Regions from separate parts of the Homo sapiens genome. Here regions 1, 2, 3, 5, 6 and 7 are each linked to region 4. The links are contacts of gene promoters, found by promoter capture Hi-C in blood cells and fetal thymus (Javierre and others, 2016). All regions are on one chromosome and are shown on one strand. Each heading gives the region's core, a stretch centred on a gene start or on the middle of the fragment in contact. The rest is flanking DNA. Distances are from core to core; before and after follow the strand shown. Region 1 has its middle 6.1 kb from the start of PNMA5. Region 2 holds the start of DUSP9 (dual specificity phosphatase 9). Region 3 has its middle 14 kb from the start of PNMA5. Region 4 holds the start of ZNF275 (zinc finger protein 275). Region 5 overlaps CETN2 (centrin 2). Region 6 overlaps ZNF185 (zinc finger protein 185 with LIM domain). Region 7 has its middle 28 kb from the start of PNMA3.

Region 1 (3,717 bases), core at 837-3,336, 330 kb after region 4:
CCTTTTCTTCTTTCCCCTGGGATTGCCTTTTTAAACTCAGGAAGTCCTTTTCCAATGGTCCTCTTGTTTACAATATGCACAATGCTTGGGCCCCATCTATGGATCGCCTTTCTGGAGGCCTTTCTTGTTTCCAGGGGTGTCTACCTTCTCATTGGGCTTCTTTACTTCAAGTGCTGTGAACAGAGCAGCAACCAACAAAGATGCCTGTTTTTCCATCCTCTGTTGCTCTTTATGATCCAATGCTTGATCTCAGTTTTTGAACACCTTAAAAGCAATCTATACAGTTAAGAGATAGACATTCCAAAAACACTTTCTAATTTTTATAGCTTTTTCTGAATGCCAGGAGTGCTTTGACTAATAAAAGTTATGTTAATTAATCTGAGGTTCTCAGGGGCCTCAGGATCTATCTCAGTTGACATTGCCAGGAGGCTTCAAAAATTATCTCCAAAAACTTTCAGATGAGTTTTCATTTGGCCTCTGTCACATTTCCTGAAATTTATTAAAGCTACACTACTTTGAGACCCCTTTCCTCAGGACTGCTAAAATTCAATCTCTTTAATGCTTGCAATGAGCTTGACTCTCATGATTTGGATCCTATCAGGATCTTGCACATGCCAGAATGCCCAGTCCCTTCGTTGGGACAGGACGTGTTAACTAAGTTAATTGCCACAGTAACCTTTGCTCTGGGAAAATTGGACATTGAGGTGCCACCAGAACAAGCATGTGAGCTCCAAGATGCCCTTTTTGACCACGGAGCAGGAAAACACACCACCAATATTATTGAGAACATCTTAAAGCCCAGACACTTGGGCCAATGGGAGGCTGGGAGGAGCTAAGACTGCTTGTGTTAGGCTATAGCCTCAGCAGTAGCTGCCCAGACCAGATTGCTGGCAGTCTCAGTATGTTACTGGTCAGCTTCTTCTCTAGCTTTTTCTAAAACTATTCTCCACTCTTTGGAGGTAAGTAGTGCATTTTGTAAATATTGCACATTCTCCCAGTTAGGATTATGAGTAGTGTAAATGGAGAACACATTTTCCATCCTCCTTGGGTCACCCCAGTAGGTAAGCATGTTATCCTTCCAATGGTATAGGTCAGAGACTGAGAATGGCACGTGTACCCACACAGGTCCCGCTGGCTGACCCTGGGCATTGATTCTGCCAATGGGTACTTGCCTAATGGAATTGCCCTACCTCAACCAGAGTGGCTCCCTGACGATATTGAGTGCCCTGTCAGGTGTGTGAAGGAGAGAGCACTCCTGGCCTGTTTACGTCACTATTATTCCCCAGTCCAGCCAGGGTAATAGGGGCTCCCATTCCTGCCTGAGCAGGGGGGCGGGGCCATTGCTCTGGCTTCCATATCTCGCCCCCCATAAGGTGGAGAGATAGGATTGGTGCATTCATTTGTTGAAGTAGTAAGTCATCTTCTGATTTTTGAGAACCGGGTAAAACCTTTACCTCTTTCACCTTAGAGGCATTTCTTTCAACCATGATTCTATGCAAATTATACCTTCTTTGAATTAGCTCACTTTGGTACAAAAGCATAAAAGCTTGTACATTCAGAATTTCATCCCATTTACCTTCTTGTTCACAAAACAATTCTAATTGAAAAATTATAATGTAATTTAGATATCTAAATTCTGGCTACCATTCCCTGGATCCTAGGGGATACCGTGGTCAGGCAGAATTTCAACATTAAAAACATTTTTCTTTTTCATGGGCTCAAAGCTAAAAATGGCCCGATTCTGCAGAATGCACCATAATGGGCTACAAGGAGGAACATAATTTGTAGTTTCCATTTTAGATGACAAGACCTTAGGTGAAAAACCCTTAATGCCTCAGCTGGGCTTTAGGCAGATTGTCAAGCAAGCAAATCAAAATCAAAATGTGATTTCTCAAAGTCTCCATCCCTTCAGTTGCTTATGGAGTATTCCCTACTAAACACACTATGATGAAGCAGAGTCCCGTAAATTGCCAAAGCAAGGCCAGATGTCCTGCCAATGCAGAACGTAGTGTTTGAAGAAAATATACCTTGGGGCTATTGCCCACAAATTTGTCACCTGCCAAAAAATGTCTTCCCAGCCAAGTGTCTCATTTCTAATGCTGCAAAAGTAAAAGCAACACAAGCCAGTGATGCCTTGGTGGCAGCCAAATACACAGATCCATCCCTGAATAAAATAATTCAGGCAGCTACTGGACAGGGTCCAAGGGTGCTCATAGCCAGGGGCTGATATGCTATTGGCAAGACACCCACTCAGGGCTTTTGAGTTGTGGCCAAGTGTTATTGAACTGAACTGGAGTTGTCTTGCCCATCACAGTAAGATCAGATATCCACACTGAGGTTTGCAGTGGTGGAAAGGAAGACATTTATTTGCAGGGCACTAAGCAAGGAGGATCAGGCAGCTAACGCTCAAATCCAGAGCTCCGTGATGGCTTGCAGGTAAGGGCTTTTAAAGGTAGGAGTAAATTTCAGGAAAGCAGAAGTTACAGGCTAATTCATAAATCATTACACAGAGGTTACCCATTGGTTTTGGCCTAAAAGGGTGGGATATCTTGAAGTGAGGGCTTACAGGCCATAAGTAGGTTCAAAGGTCTTTTGGTTTGCAGTTGGTTAAGCAAGAGAAGCTTTGTTTAAAATTTTTGGGTCAGCAGAAAAGAATATTAGCTCTGACAGATGGATGTGATTTCCTCCAGGCCCCTCATGAAGAAGTTTGGAACAAAGAGTGGTGGTCAGAGTTCAGTCCTCAGCTCCCCCTTTTCTGGGGTCTGCATGCCAGCTGATCAGTTTGGTGGGGATCCAAGTTTCTGAAAAACAACTCAGAGATATATGTTAACATGTTATCTTTAGTTTCTATAGGGAAAGAAAACATCCTGTGATTGTAGCTTCCTTGGCTGTTGTTTTAAGCTATTACCTTCTTGCTTATCAACTTGCTTATTTACTTCTCAGGGCTAGCTAGGTGCCTGGCATTGCCCCTGAAAGAACTCAACATTTTCCTTTATTTATATGCTTAAGGGGGCCTGCAGACCCCTGAGACGGGGTCCCTGCTCCATCTCACTTTCCTCATTGTGTATTCTTGGCAGCTTTGTTGAAAATTAATTGTCCATGTATGCTACTGTATGATCCAGCAATTCCACTATGGATAGATATCCTAAGCAAATAAAATCACTATCTCTAAGTGGTATCTGGACTCTCTTGTCCATTTCAGCATTATTCACAATAGCTAAGATAAGAAAACAACCTAAGTGACCACTGACAGATGAATGGATAAAGAAAATGTTTTTTATATATCTATATTATATATATTATATATAATATATATAATATATTATATATAAATGTCTTATATATATTTTTATATAATATTTAATATATAATATAATATATATTATATAATATATATTTTATATATTATATATATTATATATTATATATATATTATATATAATATATATAATATATATTTATATATATTTTATATATAATATATATAACATATATTTATATATATATTATTTATATATATTATATATATATTTTATATATATTATATAGTATATGTATTATATATTATATATATTATATATAATTTTCTTTATTATATATATTATATATAATATGAATATACTATATATTCATATCATATATTATATATTCATATTATATATATAACATATATATGTTATATATATAACATATATATGTTTTATATATGTTTTATTT
Region 2 (3,573 bases), core at 71-2,570, 310 kb before region 4:
TTTCCAGGCTCAGAGACTGGGCTGCCGAGGGTGAAGAACTTCCCCACGGTCACACTCAGGCTTCCCTCCTCTCAAAGCAGCCTGGCAGGTCATCAGGGGAGGGGGGCCTCAACTCGCTTTAGAAAAAAAGAAGTGGGGCTGGCCTAAGGTCAAATGAATCCCGAACCCCCTGGAAGGAGGGCCCCGCGGCACCTACCCTGGAGGTAGTAGGCCAGGTAGCCTTCCTCTCGCAGCTTCTGCAGCAGGGTGCCCAGCACCGACTCGGCCTCCCACTCCTCGGCCTCGGCCTCGGCCTCCCCGCGCCGGCGCCGGCCCCCGCCCTGGTCGTACAGGAGCACGGGGGCAGGCGGGGGCGGCTGCAGCGGCGGCCCAGGCAGGAGCGCGCGCACCGACAGGCTGCCCCTCCGCAGGCGGCGCAGCAGGAGCGCCGGCAGGGCCACGCTCAGCGCCCCACCGATGCGCGCCGACTCGTACAGCTCGCGGCTGCGGCAGTCCAGGAGCAGGAGCCGCGGCCGCGGGGGCGACAGCTCCCGACGCAGCCACAGGCACGAGCGGCCCAGACCCTCCATGGGCGATCGGCTCCCTACACGCTGGACCACGGGCGCTGCGAAGAGAGAGAAGGCGCGGTGTGAGCTACCGGAGGGCCGAGGGGGCTCAGACTTGAAGCCGGCCCCGCGTCCTGAAGGCGGGAGCCCAGGGTCCCCCACCATGAGGACTCCCAACAAGGCGCCCCAAGAAACCCCCCAGGCAGCAGCTCGGCCCGGGGAAGGGTCCTCGAGAAGAGGGCTGAGCGGCTAACCGCCCCTTCGAGGCTCATCTTGGGGTACCCTGAGGTCGCAGCCGCCTCCCTCCATACCCCCTTTCTGCTCCTGTCTCGGTCTTCTCGCGAACGCTCCCCAAGTTCGAGCTTCCGACTCTGGCTGGGGGTGTGCGTGCGAGGAGTGCCGTTCGAGGCCTAGATCTCCCCCAGGGCCAGGTGGGCCAGGGGAACAGAGGAGGCGCCGAGGTGCTGGGCCTCAGCGAGTCCTCTCAGAGGTGGTCTGGCCCCCGGTCCCCCATCTCCCCCTACCCCTAGGAGAGAACAAAAGGAAAGAGACCTGGAGCGAGATCCGGCGGTGGACGACCGCGCGTGGACGTTCTGGCCACGGCCACTGCCACGGCGGAACGCGAGGCGCCGTCCCGCGGCAGAGAGTCCCCAGGCCTGGCCGCCAGGAGAGGGCGGGGCGGCGGTGCAGGCTCGCACGTGGAAGCCGAGCCCCGCGCAGCCCGCGCAGCCCGCGCACCGGCCGCTTCCTGGCAGCCGGACCCAGCTTCCACCTTGGAAACTGCCTTCGGACGTGGAGTTACAACTCCGAGGGGCGGGCCGGGGCGGGGCTCCGGGGGCGGGCCCGGCGGGCCGGTGAGCCAACGGGTGCTAGCCGAAGCAGTCGGGTGGGACCTGCGAGTCGGCTGAGCTGGGGCTTCCACCGAGGCGGGACGGGGTCGGGGCAGAGGCCAAGGGCAGGTCAGGGGCCCAGCAGGGGACCAGCTGCGGCTCCCCTGGCCGGCGCCAGCCTGGCCTCGGGAGGCAGGGGGAGGGGTGAGGACCAGAGCCCAGCCCCTCTGCCGCAGAAGCTGCCTCCAGCCCAACTCACAGGGTGATACTGGAGCATCTTCTCCCCTGCCTGGATCTCAGTGGCCCCATCTCTGTAATGGGCTCAGAGCTAGCAGCTTGGGCAAACTTGGGATGCCACCGAAATCACGGAGGGGAGGAGGAGGCAGGACCAGAAACTTAGTGCAGCTTTGGCCCAGAGGTCTGCTGCAGGGCTAGGCAGGCAGGGGTAGCTCCTGGATACCTACCAATACCAGCCCGCTTCACTCGCACAGGACTGGCCAAAAGCACCCAGGAACCCTGAGCTCCCAGCCCTAAACTGGGGCACTCTGCTCTTATCACATTACTGATCCTAAGAGTCACCCGTGGCTCCCCCCTCTGCCTCCTTCCCTTAACCCCCCTTCGGCTAATCAAAGTGGAAAGAACTAGTTTCTACCTAAATATCTCTCACATCCACGCCTCTCTCCCCTGTCCCTTGCCCTAGCCGAGGGCTCAAATTCATCAGCTTTAGGCCAGGTCACTGTCACGTCTTGCACAACAGTCTCCCTGCCTCCGGGCCTGCAACGACCTGCCCTCCACCCTGCCCTGCCCAGCCCTGCCCAACGTCAGAATGCCATCCACTCAACCAAGGCTGGTGGCCTCCATCCTTTCCTCCATGGGCACAACAGGCGGGACAGATCCACAGGCAGCAAGAGCACTGGACAAGGTCTCAGGTGTGGTGAGCACTGAGGCAGGAGACCAGGGTCAGGGGGAGGTGTCCACAATGCTGATCTGGCTAAAAGTCCCTTCTCTGCTTAAAGCTCAACAAAAGCAAATAACAGTGTTGAAGGAAAATGTACGCCAGATAAGATAAAGCTCATACCCAACTAAAAGGTTAAGACCCCTGTAGATAAATGGGCAAAGAACCTGAAAACACTGCATACTGCAGGAAGGAGGGAATGCGGTGGCCTAACAAATATTTGGGGGAAGGTTCAACTTCAGGCGTGGAAGGAAAGCCACTCCAATAAACAAGTAACAATGACCAACGAGGTAACACTTCCCACCTACTGCATTAGAAATGTTCTCATTTTTGAGAACACGCAGTGCTGGCAAGATTGCTGTGAAATCAGCGTGCTGTTCAACTGTTGCAGGGTTATATATTGGTACGGCCCCTTTGGAAATTAATCTGGCAATATCAAGAGCTAGGAAAAAATCCCAACCCTTTGACCACTTTTGGGAATCTAAGGAACTAAAGTAAAAGAAAGCAAAGTTATGCACACGAGGATGGGCACCACAAAGCATTTTTCTAACAAGTGGAAAATGCAAAGCAAACTACGAGTCTAAAGACTCCTCTCAGGAGCCATGGAGTTAGAGGAGAAAATGTCTCAGGTCATGGTTAGGTAAGAGGGCAGGTGACGGAAAGCTAGGTGGGTCACCTCTAAGGGGCTTCCAGTTTGCCTCTCTCCCTCCCTTTCGGGCAGTGGGCTGCTAGCCGGGGACTCCCAGGACCCTGGCACTGGGCTGCTTTCCGGCCACACCCCCCATGTCCCTGCGTCTAACAAGAGTCCTAATTCCTGCATCCAAGGGCTTTGGGCAGCTGGACTGTGCCCTTCCTTCTCTCACCCAGTGGGCAAGGGCCCCAGCCCAGGCCTCCCTCCTATGCCCCCTGCCCAGATTCTGAGATTCTGCTCATTCTTCAGGCCCCCTCCTCCAGGCAGCCTTCCCAACTCGGAGCCAGTAGTCTCCCTCCTCTGTGCTCCCTAGTGTGGTCACTTTCCCCCTTTCTCAGTGTGTTCCTGGGGCAGGGACTTTGTCTTCTGTTTTCTGTCCACAGCCTAGCTCCACAGTGGTGGAGGTGGACACCGGCACCCAGCCTGGGGGCTGCCTCCAGGCCCACTGCAGCTGTGGGTGGGAGCTCAGAGTGGGCAGGGGTTGAAGGCACCACGGAGGTTCTGCCATGTGCCAGTCTTGTTGTGGAGAGTGGGGGTGGCGCAGGGCTGTGA
Region 3 (3,550 bases), core at 308-2,807, 350 kb after region 4:
CTTGGACTCCTGGCATCCAAAACTGTGAGAGAATAAATTTCTGTTGTTTAAGACTTTCGTTTTGTAGTACTTTGTTATGACAGGCCTGGGAAACTAACACAATACCCCTTCCCCATAAGACTTAGTTAGGACTCAGGAATGCTCTCCTTGTTTACCTATGACACGGACAGACACAAACCCTCCAAATTCCCATTTGCATTAATCAGAGCACTCCAGAAAAGCAAAACCAGTAGGAGCTGATAGATATATTATTTTGGGAATTGGCACACATGATTATGGAGGCCAACAAATTCTATGATATGCCATCTGCAAGCTGTAGAATAGAGAAAGATGGTGGAATAATTCAGTCCAAGTTCAAAGGCCTGAGATCCAGGGGAGTTTATGGTGTTACTTCTAATCCAAAGCTAAAGGAGTGGGGAGCGCGGCCCATTGGTGTACACCTTGGAGTCTGAAAGCCTTAGATCCAGGAGCTCTGATGTCTGAGGACAGGAGAAGATAGATGTTTCAGCTCAAGAAGAGAGAGAAAGAGAGAATGAGCGAGCGAGAGAGAGAGAGAGAGCGAGAGAAAGAATTTGCTCTCCCTCCATCTTTTTGTTCTATTTGGCCCCTCAAACAACTGGATGATGCCTTCCTACACTGGTGAGGGTGATCTTTATTCATTGTACTGATAGAAATGCTATCTCTCCTGGAAACACCCTCACAGACACACCCAGAAATAATGTTTTTACCAGCTATCTGAGCATCCCTTATCCCAGTCAAGTTGACACATACAATTAACTAGCACATCCCTCTACCTCTCACTCTGTTCTTCTGTTCCACTTCATGGCAAAGCTCAGACTTGTCTATGCCTACCACCCACACTTTCTCAGCTCCCATGCTCTCCTTGATTCTCTGAAACACTGGTTTCACCCATTCTGCTACTGAAAGGACTCAACAAAGTGACCAAACAACCTCAATCTTGATGAATCCAAAGGTCAATTCTCTGTCCTCATCTTATTTACACCAACATCTCAGTAGATTTTGACCCAGGTGACTATTCTTCCCTCATGAAGCACTTTTTCCCCTTGGCTCCTGGGATACCACATGCTTCGGGTTTCCTCCTACTTCACTGGCCTCTCCTGATAGAGTTTTCTGATTCCTCCTTCTCTGCTTGATTCTCCGCAGGACTCAGTGCCCTGGGTCCTCTTCTCTTTACTATCTACATTCACTTCCTTGGTGATCTCAGCCTGTCCATGCTTTCATTATCATTGGCAGGCTGCTTCTAAGCCCAGTTCCCTCTTAAGCTCTAGGCTTATATGTCAAAGTGCCTAACCCACATCTCCACTTGGGCAACAGAACATCTCAATACCAATTTTCCTAACACAAAACTCTGGCTCCCAAGCCACACCATTCAATCAGTGCCAAACTGCTCATAAGCTCACCCAAGATACTGGCATCACCATCTACCCAATTGCTCTGATTCCAAAACTAGACTCAGTTTGTCTTCTTCTCTTTCCCTCATAGATTCATATTCCATTATCAGCAAGTACTGCAGTTCTACTTCCAAATACATGTAAACTCCATCCACTTCTATCTCTACCACTGCCATCATTGTCCAGGCCACCGTCACTGATACTTGCAGTGCAATAGCCTCCTCTCTCTCTCCTCTTGCTCCTCTATAGTCCATTCTCCAAATATAACTCATAGTGATTTTTAAAAATCAGAAATCAAATGACATCATTTCTTTGCTCAGAAGCCATGGATGGCTTCCCATATCACTTAGACTAAAACTCAAACTTCTAACCATGGCCTGCAAACCCTACATGATCTGGCCCCCACTCTGCTGTGTGTTTACCACCCTCTAGCCCCGCTGGCTAGTCCCTCAAACACACCTGGCTCTTAATCTTATCTCAGGGCCTCTGCCCTTACTGGCCCCTCTACCTGGAAAACTTGTGGGAATGGAAATATTCTAGGCCTGTGCTGCCCAACAGGGTAGTCTCTAGCCATGTGTGGTTACTAGGCACTTGAAATGGAGCTAGTGTGACTGAGAAACTGGATTTTAAAAATGTATTTTAGTTGATTTCTATTTAAACACAAGTAGCCTAACGTGGGATGTGGAGACCATATTTAGCATGTGGAGACCAGAGCTCTAGCTCGTTCTGCTTTATAATTTTACAGAACTTGTCTGAAATCATCTATTTTATGCATTCATTTAGTCAACATTTACTGAGCACCTACTATGTGCAGGGCACTATTATAGGCACTGGGAATTCAGCAGTGGAGCAAAAGGACAAAAATCTCTCATGGAGATTTCATTTAAGTAAGGAAATACAAACAATAAAATAAGAAGAAAACATGTAGTATGTTAGATTGTGATAAGTGCTACAGAGAAAAAGCAAGGAAGCAGGTATAAGGAGTGTTATGGGTGTGCACAGAATTTTAAATTGGATGGTCCATGAAGGTGATCAGGAAGAAGGTAGCATCTGAGCAGAGATGTGAAGGACGCAAGGGAGATGGCCACGTGGGCATCTGGGAGATGAGCATTCCAGGCAGAAGAGACAACCAGCACACAGCTCAAGGCCAGAGAATGCCTGGAATGGTATGAGTAAGAAGGAAAGGTGGTGGGGGCTGGATAAAGCAGCACCTGCTTGGCCAGCCACCTTGAGGACTCTGGCTTTTAGTCCAAGTAAAATGAGGCCTGGGGAAGGTATGGAGCAGAAGAGGGATGTGATCGGATTGAAACTCTTCACTCTTGCAGCCATGCTGGGGTACACTTCAGGGTGGGAAGGAAGGAAAGATGATTGCTTAGGTTATTGTAATCATCCACATGGGGGATTAGGGGACAATATGTTTATGGTGAAGGTGGGGAGAAATGGTTTGCCTCTGGATCTGTTTGGCAGGGAGAGTTAACAGGCTAGGCTGATGGGCTGGAAGTGCAGTGGGAGATCAGCAGGTGATGTGTAGGTTTTGGTCTATGCAAGCTGAAGAATGGGACTGCCATTTACGGAGCTGTGGATGGCAATGCATAGAGCATGGCTTCCATGGTTGAGTATGAAATGACAATTAGACTCCCCAGGTGGAAATGAGCTGTGGGAAGTTGAAACACAAGTCTGAAGTTCAGGAAGATGATGTGGGCTGGAGCAGCTGCAATTCCAGAAGGAGGCAGTGTATACTGTATCTGTTGAAGCCTGGACCCCAGTGATACAACGCAGTGAGTGCAGATAGAAAAGCGAAGGGGTCTAAGAACAAAGTCCTAGAGTACTCCAAAGTTGAGAGAATGGGATGATGAGAAAGAACCAGCAATGGAGATAGAAAAGGAGTGACCAGTGAGGTGGAAGGAAAGGCAGAATGGGCCTAGAGGCCTAGCAAAGGGAATGGACCTGATATGGTTTGGCTCTGTGTCCCCATCCAAATCTAATCACGAATTGTAATCCCCACACGTCAAGGGAGGGAGCCATAATTCCCACATGTTGAGAGAGGGAGGTGACTGGATAATGGGGGCAGTTCCCCCCATGCTGTTCTCGTGATAGTGACTTCTCAGAGATGTGATGGCTTTATAAGCGTTGGCATT
Region 4 (3,631 bases), core at 341-2,840:
ATCTGGAGGTTCCCAGATTCTCCAACTCTCAGAATCTCTGTTACTGACAGGATTCCTGCCCAGGAACCTGCTGAAATGGGAGCCCACTATCTCTGAGTCTGTGCTGATGGTTAGAAGAGAATTCACAAGTTCTGGTAGATTTCCAAGGGGTCCCTCACAGACAGAAGGCTGCAAATTACTGCTCAATAGGGTTCTATATATAAAACTCAGTGTCTGACCCAGTTCAGTACATCCCCCTAGTAACATTTTGTGGGGATGTACTGAACTGGGCCAGATACTGTGCAAGTGGCTTCTACTTGAAGGTCCAATGTTGCAGGGTTGGGGGAAGGTGAGGGTGGGGAGGGGCTGAGGCAGCATTAGTACCTAGGGGAGGTGCTGTTCCAGCAATCCCATCTGAAATTCTCTTGTAAAGGAAAAATGTCGGGCTGAGGTTGAAGAGGAAATGTTTCATTGACTAAGGAGACTGGAGGGGGCCGCATGCCCAGCTAGGTCAAGGCTGGCTGGAGGGCTTCAGTTGGAACAAGGTGGCAGGGTGGGACCTCTGGGAAGTGGGCCAGGAATGGGGGCAGGGGGTTGTTTGAAAGGGACCATGGACTTTGGGCGGCAGGCGAGTGGGGGGTGTGTGTGGAAAAGATATATAATTAATCACCCAAATATAGACTGGAGGAGCCAGCAAAGGAGTTTAAGGGGGCGGGGGCACTGAAGTGGGAGATGGCGGCCCCCAGTAGGGCGACAGAAAAAGACTGGTTCAGACAGAGGGCCTTGAGCTCGGCTCACCGCCCCCTTTCCCCTGCCTCTCCACAGCTCTCTCTCTAGGCTACCTACCGGCCCCCATTCTCCCCACCAAGCTGAGGCTTAACCGCCCCCCCCCACTCCCACCCACTCAAAAGGAAAGGAGGGACTCCCCAGCGGGAACTGTTCCCACCTGGCCCACCCTCCCAGCTCCCAGACTGCGGCTCAGTCCCTCCCCTAGACCAGGGAAAAGTCCTTTAACCCCCACCCCTACAATGCCCCCTCCAGATCGGGCTCCTAGGAGCTAGGGGCAGGGGTCCTTTCTCTCCGCCCCTGAGCGGTTCCCATCTCCTAGCGTCCCCCAAAGAGCAGAGCAGGCCTCTACACTTTAGCGATTCCCACCCGGGATCGCCGCCCCCCGCCCGCCTCGGGAAGGCCTTCGGGCCTCTTCGTACTCGTCATCCGGGACCCGTTCCCTGCTCTGGCCCGCCCAAGGCCGAGCAGCTCTCCAACTGCCCAGAGACGCCCCCTCCCTCCACCGTGCACTCTTCTGCGGCCCGCACACTCGCTCCAGCCCCGCACACAGTCCTGCACCCCCTGCACATCCTCTCGCGGCCCTGCACGCTCACTCAGGTCCACACGTCCTCCTGCCGCCCCCACGATCACCTCCGCCCTGCGGCCCCTCCAGCGCCCCCCGCACATCCTCCCGCGGCCCGCACACTCACCCAGGCCCGGCGGCGGCCGACGCGCGGCCCTCGGTGGAGCGGCGCTGGCGCGGCCCAGGCAGGCCTGGCGTGGCAGGAAGCGCCACGGAGCCGCCCGTGCCCAGCCGAGCTAACAGCCCCGCGGCGCGTTTCCGGAGCCGTGAGCGCCGCCGGGGGTTCTGAGGGAGCGAGGCCCCGCCCCGGCCCCAGTCTCGTCCCCGATTGGCCCGGGAAGGGGGCGTGGCGGGAAGGGGGCGGGGTTTGGGCGGGGGCGGACTGGGCAGGCAAGTCTGATCAGCCTGCGGGGGAGCGGCGCGCGCGGGCTGGACGCTTGGGTGGAGGTGGGGAGGAGTGGAATGAGCGTGCGAATGAATGAATGAACGAGCGAACAAATCGACCAGCAGACGAAGGAAGGAACGAAGGAATGGAAGGGACCTCTCCCCCTTGGGCATCTTCAAGATGGTGGTGGGGGGAGTGAAGGGTCGGGAACTGAGGGCGAAGACTGGAAAGCCAGTATTCTGTATGAATGGAATCAGATCGTATGTACTATTGTGTGTCTGGATTCTTTCATTCAACGTGATGTTTTCAAGATTTATCTATGTTGTTGAATGTGCTATCGCTGAGTAGTATGCTATTGTTTGGATATATCAGAGTTGGTTTGTTCATTCACCAGGTTATGATCTGGGCTGTTTCCAGTTTGGGCGATTATAAATAAAGCTACTATGAATATTCATGTACACATCTTTGTGTGGACATATGCTTTCATTTTTCTTGGGCAAATACCTAAGAGATGAATTGCCACATCACAGGATAGTTTTATGTTTTATAAGAAACTGCCAGAATGTATTCCAAAGTGGTTGTGCAATTTACATTCCCACCAGAAATGTATGCGAGCTCCTTTTCTTTCCCATCCTCATCAACATTTGAGGTTGTCAGCCTTTATTTTTAGCCATTTGAAAGGGTGGGAAGTGGCATCTCATTGTTATTTCAATTATCATCTCCCTGATGACTAATTATGTTGAGTATGCTTTTATGTGCTCACTGGCCATTTCTATATCTTTCTTTGTAAAGTGTCTGTTCAAGTAGTTTGCCCAATGTTATGTGCAGTATATATATATGTATATATATGTGTGTGTGTATATATAGAGAGAGAGACAAAAGAGAAAGCTAGCCCATTATGTGCAATGTGTGTGTATATATGTGTGTGTGTATGTATGTATATATATATACACACACATGTAGTTCCTGAGAAATTTTATGTTTTCAACTTTCATTTTAGATTTAGGGGGTACATGTGCAGGTTTGTTGCCTGGGTATAGTGTGTGATGTTGAGGTTTGGGGTACGAATGACCCTGTCATCCAAGTACTGAACATAGTACACAATAGTTAGTTTTTAAACCCTTGACCCCTCCTTCCCTGACCCCTCTTGTAGTTCCCATTGTTTGTTGTTCCCATCTTTATGCGCACGAGTACCCGATGTTTAGCTCCCACTTATAAATGAGAATGTGTGGCATTTGGTTTTATGTTCCTGCATTAATTCACTTAGGATAACAGCCTCTAGCTGCATCCATGTTGCTGCAAAGGACATGATTTCATTCTTTTTTTATGGCTGCATAGCATTCTGTGGTGAATGCCTACCACATTTTCTTTATCCAATCCACCACTGATGATCACCTAGGTTGATTCCACGTCTTTGCTATTGTGAATAGTGCTGTGATGACCATACAGGTGCATGTGTCTTGGTGGTAGAATGATTTATTTTCCTTTGAGTATATACCCAGTACTGGGATTGCTGGGTCAAATGGTAGCTCTGTTATAAGTTGTTTGAGAAATCTCCAAACTGCTTTCCACAGTGGCTGAAATAATTTACATTCCCATCAGCAGTGTATAAGTATCCCCTTTTCTCCACAGTCTCTCCAGCATCTCTTATTTTTTGACTTTTAAATAATGGCCATTCTCACTGGAGTGAGATAGTGTCCCATTGTGGTTTTGATTTGCATTTCTCTGATGATTAGTGATGAGAGCATTTTTTTCATATGTTTTTTGGCCACTTGTATGTCTTCTTTTGAGAAGTGTCTGTTCACGTCTTTTGCCCATTTTTTGATGGGGTTATATTCTGGATATTAGACCTTTGTCAGGTGATTTTCTCCCATTCTGTAGGTTGTCTGTTTACACTGAGATATATTTGACAGACA
Region 5 (3,833 bases), core at 633-3,132, 510 kb after region 4:
ACAAGTGATCTCCCTGCTTCTAGAAACAACAGTAAAGAAAAGGGAGGGGTAGAAGTTCATGGAAAGATTCATTGTTCTTGCCAGTAAACCCTGTTATCTTTCTTTTTAAGCAAAGCTTTGGAATTGGTTATATAAATGACTTTAAAAATACATATGGGTGTCTGTAACTATGTTATGTAAATATGGACTGTATGATATATTATTGTGCTTGTGTATTGCATAACATATAAAGGCCTCCAACTTTAAGAAGGCAAACATGGCATCAAGTTCTCAGCGAAAAAGAATGAGCCCTAAGCCTGAGCTTACTGAAGAGCAAAAGCAGGAGATCCGGGAAGCTTTTGATCTTTTCGATGCGGATGGAACTGGCACCATAGATGTTAAAGAACTGAAGGCAAGCTCTGTGCATTCCTGCCGTACTGCCCTTCCTTTCCTCTGCCTCTTCCTTGTCATCTCCCTATCACCTCTCTACCCCTTTTGCCCTCTTCTCCCTGCAGTAAGTAACAGGGGAGGTTGTACTGTGCTGTTTTCCTGTCTTTACTTACTTTGAGTATTATTCAATAAAATTGATTGCAAATATCAATTAGATCAATGTCATAGTGTTCCCCAATCATATTAACATGACCACATCAGATGCTGGCTTAATGCTCTCAACACTGTTATTTTTGCTCCTGCTACTTTAGATGTGCTTATTGAGACGATCCTGTTTTCTTTATAGGTGGCAATGAGGGCCCTGGGCTTTGAACCCAAGAAAGAAGAAATTAAGAAAATGATAAGTGAAATTGATAAGGAAGGGACAGGAAAAATGAACTTTGGTGACTTTTTAACTGTGATGACCCAGAAAATGGTAAGTAGCTAAGACAATTATCATGGTATGGAGCCCCAGTCATCTGCAGAGGTCCATGGCGTCTTCCTGTTAAAACAGTCATGTGACCACAGAGCAGTCCAGGTAGCAACTGCATCAGGAGGCCTGCCCTCCCATCATGTTACTTTGGGCTCCCAAAACAAGCCCTTGTGCTTCTTTCTCAAGACTTCCAAGCAGATACCTCTTCCCACAGAATTCCAAATCAGTTAGGAAATAGATATGGGATAGGGAGAGATATAGCGATAGGTAGCAAACGTCACCTTGGATGGAGTGCCTGGCTTGCCTGGTGTTTCTTTGAGGCCAAAATGGGCTTCCTGACACTTGCCGCAAGTCTAGACTCGAGTTACATTGTTAAAAAGGAAAGGGTGACCTGACCAGGCAGTGGCAGGGCTACAGGACAGTAGTAACCAACCGTGGTGTCCCCCTACTCATGTGTTTTATGTTCTACTTGTTAAGTCTGAGAAAGATACTAAAGAAGAAATCCTGAAAGCTTTCAAGCTCTTTGATGATGATGAAACTGGGAAGATTTCGTTCAAAAATCTGAAACGCGTGGCCAAGGAGTTGGGTGAGAACCTGACTGATGAGGAGCTGCAGGTTTGTAATGCATCACACTGGAACTTAAAATTCCCACCTTTGAGCCCTCTGTGACTTTTCCATTACATTTTCCCTAGTGTGAGCACCTCTTTGAAGAAAAGCCAGTGTACTTTGTCCCTCTGCAGACAACTTAATTCTCCTTTAATAGTCAGACAAACCTATGAACCCTGCTTCCAGAAAAATGCACATATGCACAATTTTGCTTACTATTTTAGGTTCCAGGAATCCCTCTAGTCAAGGCAATCTTCAAGGTCCCTCCCAGGTGATATGTTTGACAAAGTATGAGTTGGTTTTCAAATAACTTTTCAGAAACCAAGCTATTATCAGGAGTAGCATACTGGCATTGGGTGGACTACAATGATCTATTCACATAGATACAAATTATCTATTCACATAGATTAAAAGTCTATTGCTTGCCAGGCACAGTGGATCATGCATATAATCCCAGTACTTTGGGAGGCTGAGGCAGGAGGATCTCTTGTGGCCAGGAATTTGAGACCAGTGTGGGCAGCATAGAGACCCCATCTCTAAAAAAAAAAAAGTCTATTACTTAGTCACCTTTTGGCATTAGTTTATAAATTAACCTGAATCTTTACTGTCATATAGGAAATGATTGATGAAGCTGATCGAGATGGAGATGGAGAGGTCAGTGAGCAAGAGTTCCTGCGCATCATGAAAAAGACCAGCCTCTATTAAGATCAGTGTCTTCTTTTTCTACTGCAAGCACATGTAACTAGATTTAGTGCCTGCCATGGTGTGAAATCTGGCTTTTGAGAACACAAACTTTTCCCCCACGGACCTCCCTTTATCACTTTAATAGTGACCTTGAGCCTATTTTAGCCGTTTGGAAGTGTTCTTTGATATTACAGTTCTTTGTAAAATGACCTGCGAATTACCCTAATTCTCAAAAGCAAAACAAGAGCACACAAGCGTGAAGAAAAGGATCTTAAAGCTTTGAGCACCTGCCATTTTGCCTTGCATCGTTTCCCTCGTCATGCATTTCCACATATCCACAAACACAGAACGACTTTAGACAAGCACATGTTACACCTGTGTTGCCACAAGCAGTCATTCTTGACGGCTCCAGTTTTTATTTGACACTTGAGTTTAGTTTTCTCTTTTATAAACCCAGTGAACTCCTGCACTGGCATTTGGATGTGTGTTAATGCTATTTGTTTTGTCTTAAAAGTAAAACCTTTCTCAGTTTGAACTTGTATTCTCTAAGGATGAGTTCTTTAGCTTTGCTTATGAGTTCCTCTTCTCAATTATTGTGTTGAAGGCAGCCTATTAGATACAAAACTCCTTACCAGCCTATGGACAGAAAATGAATAATCCTTTGCTACTTTCCTGGCATGAATTGCTTTTTGCCTTGGAAGGCTGCTGGTTTGTAAAACTAGCAGAATTTTTATATCACCTAAGCCTAAATGATGCTCTAAAAATAGTTTTGGCAAAGCTAAGACTGGAAAAGAGTCTTGTTAGTAATTTGTGCTTGAATAAAATGGGGAGAGCCAGGCTAACGCAACACTAGGATGGATTCAGCCAACCTCTCGTGAATTTATTTGCTTATGGTATCTCATCGACTCTTGGAGGTGGGTTGGGCTGAGTGACCCCATCCAACCATCTTCCTGGCCTTGCCCGGGATTCCCTGTGTGAGAAATCCTGGTAGATGACATTAAAGTCTCTGCTCCAGGGTGAGAGTGGGGAGGCAGAAGGGGTGAGGGAGAATAGAAAATGAACAATGATGGAATGCTCGTTTGTTCACATGGAGAGGGAGAAAACAGATTTTCAAACTTCTGGGGGTAGGCTAGTCCTCTGGGGATAGGGTTGCCTGATTCAGCTAATAAAAAGAAAGTTGAGGTAAATTTGCATTTCAGATCAATGATGCCTTTTTTTTAGTATGACTATATCCCATTTGTATTTTTTGTTTATTCATTGTTGATCTTAAATGCAAATTTACCTAAGCATCCTGTATTGCCACTGGTAACCCTACCCGGGGAGCACGTTACAGAGGCCAGAAGCCTGGCCCTCGGTCTCATGCCTCTGGACCCTGACATCCTGTAGGACTTGGGGGCCCAGGAATATGAAGTTTACCATATCCCCCAGATGAGTCTCATGCCGAGGGACTGCTCCTTAAGAAAAACTTGGGGGAAGAGCCCAGACTAGCCCAAACCCTGGATTCTCACACACACCCACTTCCTCATCGGGCAATTTGGGGCAAGCTACTTCTCTAGGTGCCTGGAGTTTGATGTCTGTGTGATGGGGAGAAGAGTTGTGCCTACTCAGAATCACTGGAGGTGAAATACAAACTTACAGAGAGGACCTGGCTTGAAGGTATTCAAGAACAAGAGGATTCAGAAGTGTTCAGTCTTACTCCCAT
Region 6 (3,625 bases), core at 487-2,986, 400 kb after region 4:
GTGTGGGCTGTTACCTCATCCTCAAACGCCAGCTGTCTCCACGGAGCTTAAAACCTGCTACTGGGCCGGGTGCAGTGGCTCACGCCTATAACCCAGCATTTTGAGAGGCCGAGGCAAGAGGATCACTTGAGCCAGGAGTTCAAGACCAGCCTGAGAAACACAGCTAGACTCCATCTCCACAAAAATATTTTTGAAAGTTAGTCAGGAGTGGTGGTGTGTGCCTGTGGTCCCAGCTACTTGGGAGGTTGAACCTGGAAGGTTGAGGCTGCAGCGAGCTGTGATGGCACCACTGCACTTGAGCCTGGGCACACACAGCAAGATGCTGTCTTAAAAAACAGAACCAAAAACAAACAAACCCTGCTGATTGACAGATTGGCCAATTATCAAAACTTCATTACTAATAGCTACTGTTTTTTGTTTTTTGTTGTTGTTGTTTTATAGCTACTGTGCTGGGATTACAGGTGTGAGCCACTGTGCCTGGCAATAGCTACTGTTGATTGAGCATTTGAGCCTGTTCTCGTGACTTTATATGCATTAACTCTGCAAATCAACCCCAGGATATGGGCACTGTTATCACCCATGCCCATCTTTCAGATGAGCAAACGGAGGCACACAAAGCCCCTGTGATTTGCCCCAAATTTCACAGGTAATAAGAGGAGTAGCTGGGATTTGAGTTCTGGACTATATCCCTGATCCTAATCTCCTAATTTAAGCCCCCTTCTGTTCTCCTTCAGGTCCTCAGGGAGCCCCATGTTGTCAAATCCAGGAGAGACAGTCCCATCATTATTTCAAACCACCATTCAGTACTGCTGACCCAGTGGGCCACTCCAGCCTTCTCACCACCCCTCCTCCCTTGATCCTGTCAACACCACCTGCCTACCTCCCTGGCCACACACCTTCCTGGTCTCCGCCTTTTTCTCCTCCCTTTGGCGTGCTCCACCACTTGCTGGGCTGTCTCCTCCCCTCCCAAGGTGTCAACTGCCACCCTTGAAGCAGGGATCTCCACTTGTTCCTGCCTCTCCTTTATACTGGCCTGCACACCCACTAACTCCCAACTGGCCCTCAGGAGGCCCACTCTCAACATGGCGAGAAGAGACTGCCCTCGCCCAGCTGTCCCCAGGAGGGCTGGCCAGGTGGCTGCCACCTGCATACTGAGGTCGGTGCCCAGCTTCCATTGGCTCACCATGAGCCCCATGTAAAGCTAGTTTACGCTCATGATTTCAGCTCTATTCTGTCTGCATATAACGTGGAAATCTCTTGAGCCCTAATCACTCTCTCAAACCTCAATCACAAACCTTAAAATACCTCCCTCCTGGAAATTTTGACTTCAATGCCTACGAATAAACTCGTCAAATGAGTTCACTCAGCAAATGCCAAGTCTTTCCATCACCCCTCTCTGTCCCCCTGCTCCCTGCCCCAACTAGTACAATGAGCTATGGTGCAGAAGGTGGAAGGTGGGAGTAGGGCAGGCTGAGCGGATCTGCCTGCTCTGGACCATGTGACCTTGAGCAAGTTACTTAACCATTCAGGGTCTCAGTTTCTTAATCTGTAAAATGGGCATAGTGATTGTATCTACATCCATGCAGAATGGATGCTGCCATGCAGAATCGACAAGCCCTCAGATGCTGCCTGGGGAAGAAACTCAGGAGAAGGACATGACCCAGAAGACAGGACATTTGAGGTGGAACAGAAAGATGAAGAGGGGAAAGGGCATCTCAGGCAGAGCCTCCAGCCTGCACAGAGAAAGGCCCAGGGAGGGAGGAGCCTGCAGGTGGGGCCAGGTACTGAGTTCAGGCTGCAGAGCATAGTGGGAGGGGCTTTGCAGGGCTTTCTGCAGGGGGCTGGCATAACTACTTCTGCCCTTTGGAAACATCACCCAGGTAGATGTGGAAGGGAGTCCAGGGATGGGACAGTAGGAAACGGTCGCAGACAACTGGGTGAGTAGCAGTGGAGGCCTGGGCCAGGGGCAGAGCAATAGGGATGGAAACATCTCTAAAATAAAGTGGACAGGACTTGGTGCCTTGGGGGCAGAATTAAAGTGGGAGGAGCCAAGGAGGAGGGTAAAGGGACCTAGAGATCGCTCAGGACTCATCTTGGATGTCAATTCCTCCAGGAAGCCCTCCCCAAGCACTCCCACCCACCACACTGTTGAGAGGCCTCTGCTCGAAGTTCCTGCCACCCCAGGGATTAAGGGATGACCTTCAGTGTACACTCCCGCTTCTCTCCCCAGTCCCTGGCCTTCACAAGGTAGGGGCCCAGTCTCCCTGCTCGGATCTCTCCTAGCCTCCACCCCAGCCCCCGAATCCTGCCTGCATGTCACCTGGCTGTCTGACCCCCACCCCAGGGCAGAGGCTGAGCCCCTCGTGCTCCCTGCTGGTTGTGGCCTCCTTGACCCACCCCTCCCCAGCACAGAGCCTAGTGGCATGGAGAGCTGTGGACTCTGACCCAGTGACCCCACTCTATTCCCAGTGGCCCTCTCACACAGGCAGGGCAATGGCCTCAGTGGCCTTCACGGGCTCCTTAGACCCAATCCTCCTCCCACCCCCACCAACATCCCCAGCACGGCTGACTGGTCCCATCTTCAGCAATTGGCAGGGTTGAGCTGTCACTTCCCAGGGGCTCCTGGCACACAGCATCTCTGGCTGACCTCATTCATGCTCATGTCGGCGTCTGCCTCCCCCACCAGGCAGATGGCAATTCCAGCCAGGGGGTCCTGTTCACTACTGTGTCCCAGGGTCGGGCCTGTGCCCTTACACAGACTAAGCGCTTGCTCCATAATGGTTTTCTGAGTGAAAGAATGAGATGGGGCAGAAAACCCAGGTCGACCATGCCTCCCATCAACCTGTTGGCCCTACAGTGGCAGAGCCGGCCCTAGGCCTCATCATTTGCCACCTGAGGCTGCTGCTTCCATCTCTAGAATGGTGTCCAGGGAGCCAGGACAGCAGCAGGACCCCCATACCTCATGCCTTCCACGTCTGGGGCCACCAGGCGGAGTCCTGCCCTGGGTGTCAGGATCTGCAGGCGGACAATTTCCTCACCTCTTGAGCTGCGGGCCAAAGGAGAGACCCAGTGGGTTGCAGGTGAGAAAAGTCTCCCCCTTCTTGGGCTGGTGAGTGCGGTGGGCCGCCCAGACCCACTGCCCCCTTTTGATGTGCTCTCATCTCCTCCTTGGCCTTGAGCCTTGTTGGTGCTGCAGCTGAGCTCGGGCCACTGACCTGTAGGCCCCTTCCCCGGTCTCCCACCCCTGACCTGAGCCCAGCCCTCCCTCAGGCACAGCAAGGGCCCTTCTGGGTAGAAATGAAACCTCCCAACCCGTGCTTCTACCAACCATTTGCAGGGGCAACCGCAGCCTGTGACCCCACCAGGGTATCCAAAGTGGCCATTTGTGAGGCCAGGGGTAGTTCTGCATTCATGGACTGGTGGGGACTGAGGGGTACGAGAGACTGAGAAAACCCACAGACCAAATATGGAATGAAAACCAGTGGGAGGGGATGTCGCAGACTCGGGGATGAGGACAAAGGGCCCCTTTGAGCTTTCCTCTTGCCAGCCACGCTCAGAGCCCTCCCCCAGATGACCACAGGCCACCCCGGACACACATCCCTCCAAGTCTGATGCATTCTCTGGC
Region 7 (3,364 bases), core at 481-2,980, 310 kb after region 4:
CTCAGGGTATTCTGGAGTGCTTCGCCAGGGCAGGCCTGAGGCTGCACCTACCGCAGTCACAGGTGGTTGGCCAGGGCCGGGCAGACGGCCCCCTTCTCCAGGGCCATCTGCAGCAGGCCTTCCAGGCATACCAGGAAGGCAAAGGGCCCCTGCGTTCAGGTCAGGAACTTCAGCCTGGAAGTCATTCGAGGGTCCCGGTTTCCAAACGCCTGCCCCAGCACCGCTGCCCAGCAGTCCAGCAGCGCCTGGCAGTCCAGTGCCGCCAAGTTGGGATCTTCCTCTAGGAGGCCGCTCACAACGTCCAGGGCTGGGCCACCCAAGCTCTCCAGCAGCCATCTCTTCCTCTCCCTTTCCGACGCATGGTACCACAGCTGCAGCATATCCTTGGCGTGCTCCATCCAGCTCTCAAAGGACTCTTCCTCGCAGCCTGGCTGCTCCCTCCCTGAAAAGGGTCTCAGTTCCTGGTAGGCCCTGTTTTCCAGCACAGCCTGCAGGGTGCAGCGCCGAGGCTGGACCCAGGCTCTTGTTACATTTGTCCCTCTTGCCTCACCCACAGCTCCTGCCTCACCCGCAGCTCCTGCCTCACCCACAGCTCCTGCCTCACCCACAGCTCCTGCCTCACCTGCAGGTCCTGTATCACCTGCGGCTCCCTCATCTGACTCTCTTGCCTCTTCTGCAACTCTCAACTCATCTCCAGCTCCTCCCTCACCTGCACCTTCTGCCTCACTTGCAGATCCTCCCTCACCTGTGGCTTCTGCCTCACCCTTACCCACAGCTCCTGTTTCACCTATGGCTCCTGCTGCACCTGCAGCTCCTCCATCACCTGCCTCTTCTTCCTCACCTGCAGCTCCTGCCTCACCTGCAGATCTTTCCTCATTCACACCTCCTGCCTCACCTACAGATCCTGCCTCACCTGCAGCTCCTGCCTCACCTGCACCTCTGGCCACTGCTTGCCCCTGGGGCTATGCAGGGAAACTGGGTATATCCTGAAACTCAGCATCAAGGGCCTGGGGCAGGGAGATCACTTTCCAGGGTCCCCCTTTGCCTGCTATTTGGCGGGGAATCAAGCTTTGGTTTAAACCCTCAGCGAATTCCACCAAGGCTGCCCTGGCCCCGAGCTCCTTTCTGAAGACCTTGATGAGCACTCGGTACCTGCCCAGGGGCGACAGGGCAGCCCGCACGGCCTCCTGGAACTCATGTTCCTCGCAGTCGTCAGGGATATCCAGGATGAGCAGAGAGCGCTCTGCGTTCACACCCATCCTCCTGCACCAGTCCCGAAGCATCGCCAGAGCCATCGCAGAGGACTTGAGGGAGGGAGCCTGATCAGACAGGAATGTGTGCTGACTGTTGCAGTCTCTGACGCAGCCTGTGAGTGCAAAGGGGAGAGAGGGACGTTGCTGCCAGTCAGCCCACCCCCACCGCACAGCCAGAGACCAGCCACTCCCAAATGCAGGGCCTGAAGCATCTCCCCTGCCCAGTGTCACAGCCCATGCTCCCCCACCCCTACTGCTGCAGCTCAGAGTCCTTCACTGCACCCCCCACCTCCACAGCAGGAAGCGCCTCTTTCACCTGGTGAACAGCCCCTGATCACAAAACTTACAGCTGGAGCCCCTCCAACCATCATGTGCAACCCTGCAGCTGGATGTGCCCACCTCCTCTTTTTCCCAGCACTTGACCAGGAGCCCTCTCCCTAATGCCATCCTCCCTGCAACCTGGCAACCCCCTCCCACGCCTCCCACATCAGCAGCCAGGAGTCCCCTTCCCCCACAGCCAGAGCCCCTCTCTCTCCCATCGTCCCCTTCTGTAGCCAGAGGTGCCCTGCAGCCAGGAGCTCACCCCACCCAGACTCCTGCAGCAAGGAGACCCTCCTCCCCTCTCCTCAGGCTCCAGACCAGGACCCGCTGTCGCACCTACTGCCTGGGGGGACAGCGATCTGGCTCCTGCCCAGTGTGCCCTCAGCCACTCTGGGGTCCCGCTGGTGCCTGCTCACTGTCTGCAGACACTGCAACCACCCACGGGGAAATGCCACCTTCAGGCTGTGGAGCCCACTCTGGAGGCCGCCTTGAGGCCCTGGAATGGGAAGGTGGAAGATCGCGCCCCAGCAGCCCATCTGGGACTGCACAGGGCAGGGATATCTCAGGCCAGCTGTACTAAGGGCACGTGGGCTTCCAACTTCTCCCAGAAGCCTCAGATAGATGAGGGAGAAAAATCTCAGAGTCTCTGTGGGAGGCAAATAGCTAAACAGGGGGAGGCATCCGTGTTGCCCTGGGATCGGGACCTGCGCGGTAAGGGCTTGATGTGCCTCCGGGGGCAACAGGCCCAACCATCAAAATGGCCTAGTGGAAGTGTTGAGAGAGAAAGGGGATTGGAAACTGGCAGAGAGGAAGCTTATGCTTAGGGGCAGCGTCTGGAAGCTGGGAGTTGGTGGACAGCCAGGTACTAGGACTCCAGACTAGGTCCCCCAAATCACTACATTCACAGGCCTACCTCCTCATTGCAGGAATCTCCACAACAGGAAGAGGCTAGCTGTTCCTGACTCAAGAGCCTCATCATAGTTCTTAGGCTACAAAGCCAGCCTTCACCACCTAGGAAGCCATTGCATTGGAAAGAGTGTGTACGGCCTTTGGAAGCAGGCAAAGCTGGCTTCACCTAGCAGCTGGGTGGCTTTGCACAAACCACTGAACATCTCTGTTTCTCATCTGTAAATGAGCAATAAGAACATTTTTCTTGCAGGGGAGTCATGGAGCTTTACCTTCTATTAGACACACGGTAAGCCTTCAGTAAATAACCACAAGGGCACAGGAATGAAAAAGGGTGGTGTGGCCAAGAATGGTGTGGGTATTGGAGGCTGGTTGTGGCAGCCAGCTCAGTGGTCCCAGGTCTGAGCTCTGAGAAAAAGCAGGATGTGAGTGGGAACATTGGAACCATTTTCCTGAGGAATGCAAGGATTGGCCAATGTGAAAATATGACTTTCTGTTTCTGCAGGCCTTGGTCAAGAGAGGCATTTGGGAAACTCAGCCAGTCTCTGCCATGTCTAGGACTGGCTACCCATCTGGCCAGCAGCTTTGGGAGTTTCCTGAGAGTGAACCCTTGATGCATCCTTGAGCACTGCTGCACAGGCACCACTGCCCTCACGTCACTTCCCCAGCCACCAATAGGAACAACAGGAAGAGTAAGAGAGTAAGGGTACGAGGGGCAGAAGCAGACCACATGTGACAAAGTGTAGGTGAGGGACTTGCCTGTGAACTCTTGTAGTAGATTTATATATATATACACACATATATACATATACATATACACACATATACACATATATATACACATATATATACACACATATATATACATATACATATACACACAT

What was found. Contacts are between HindIII fragments. The CHiCAGO score rates a contact against its expected background, and 5 or more counts as called.
Region 1: a fragment that was not itself captured here is called in contact with the fragment with the promoter of ZNF275 in region 4 in 7 of 17 cell types (total CD4 T cells, M2 macrophages, M0 macrophages and 4 more); the score reaches 8.6 in total CD4 T cells.
Region 2: a contact is called between the fragment with the promoter of DUSP9 here and the fragment with the promoter of ZNF275 in region 4, in 2 of 17 cell types (neutrophils and activated CD4 T cells). The highest score is 7.9, in neutrophils.
Region 3: a contact is called between a fragment that was not itself captured here and the fragment with the promoter of ZNF275 in region 4, in 1 of 17 cell types (total CD4 T cells). The highest score is 5.8, in total CD4 T cells.
Region 5: a contact is called between a fragment that was not itself captured here and the fragment with the promoter of ZNF275 in region 4, in 1 of 17 cell types (monocytes). The highest score is 7.0, in monocytes.
Region 6: a fragment that was not itself captured here is called in contact with the fragment with the promoter of ZNF275 in region 4 in 4 of 17 cell types (M0 macrophages, activated CD4 T cells, total CD4 T cells and 1 more); the score reaches 7.6 in M0 macrophages.
Region 7: a fragment that was not itself captured here is called in contact with the fragment with the promoter of ZNF275 in region 4 in 1 of 17 cell types (total CD4 T cells); the score reaches 5.2 in total CD4 T cells.

The regions. Positions count from the first base shown.
Region 1 is chrX:152,998,354-153,002,070 of GRCh38, reverse strand. No RefSeq gene overlaps it. Among named protein-coding and RNA genes, the nearest start is that of PNMA5, 6.1 kb to the right of the region's middle. The HindIII fragment of the contact is 1,075 bases long and covers 1,549-2,623 here.
Region 2 is chrX:153,644,950-153,648,522 of GRCh38, reverse strand. DUSP9 (dual specificity phosphatase 9) reads right to left here and starts at 1,320. Exons shown (of 4, transcript NM_001318503.2): 1 at 1,098-1,320; 2 at 197-604. The coding sequence starts at 569. The HindIII fragment of the contact is 18,543 bases long and covers 1-3,573 here.
Region 3 is chrX:152,978,566-152,982,115 of GRCh38, reverse strand. No RefSeq gene overlaps it. Among named protein-coding and RNA genes, the nearest start is that of PNMA5, 14 kb to the left of the region's middle. The HindIII fragment of the contact is 5,734 bases long and covers 1-3,550 here.
Region 4 is chrX:153,332,112-153,335,742 of GRCh38, reverse strand. ZNF275 (zinc finger protein 275) reads right to left here and starts at 1,590. Exons shown (of 4, transcript NM_001367757.1): 1 at 1,458-1,590. MIR12129 (microRNA 12129) reads right to left here and starts at 281; the gene lies at 206-281. RefSeq lists silencers at 1,257-1,336, 1,427-1,796. The HindIII fragment of the contact is 4,020 bases long and covers 1-3,631 here.
Region 5 is chrX:152,826,160-152,829,992 of GRCh38, reverse strand. CETN2 (centrin 2) reads left to right here. Exons shown (of 5, transcript NM_004344.3): 2 at 233-391; 3 at 716-844; 4 at 1,319-1,456; 5 at 2,063-2,999. The coding sequence ends at 2,152. Among named protein-coding and RNA genes, the nearest start is that of CETN2, 2.7 kb to the left of the region's middle. The HindIII fragment of the contact is 1,056 bases long and covers 1,355-2,410 here.
Region 6 is chrX:152,927,996-152,931,620 of GRCh38, reverse strand. ZNF185 (zinc finger protein 185 with LIM domain) reads right to left here. Exons shown (of 25, transcript NM_001395254.1): 13 at 2,960-3,046. It overlaps LOC105373372 (a long non-coding RNA gene), which reads left to right. Exons shown (of 3, transcript XR_007068369.1): 2 at 1-646; 3 at 735-1,366. Among named protein-coding and RNA genes, the nearest start is that of ZNF185, 32 kb to the right of the region's middle. The HindIII fragment of the contact is 4,438 bases long and covers 1-3,625 here.
Region 7 is chrX:153,026,716-153,030,079 of GRCh38, reverse strand. It overlaps the pseudogene LOC112268308. Among named protein-coding and RNA genes, the nearest start is that of PNMA3, 28 kb to the left of the region's middle. The HindIII fragment of the contact is 1,319 bases long and covers 1,071-2,389 here.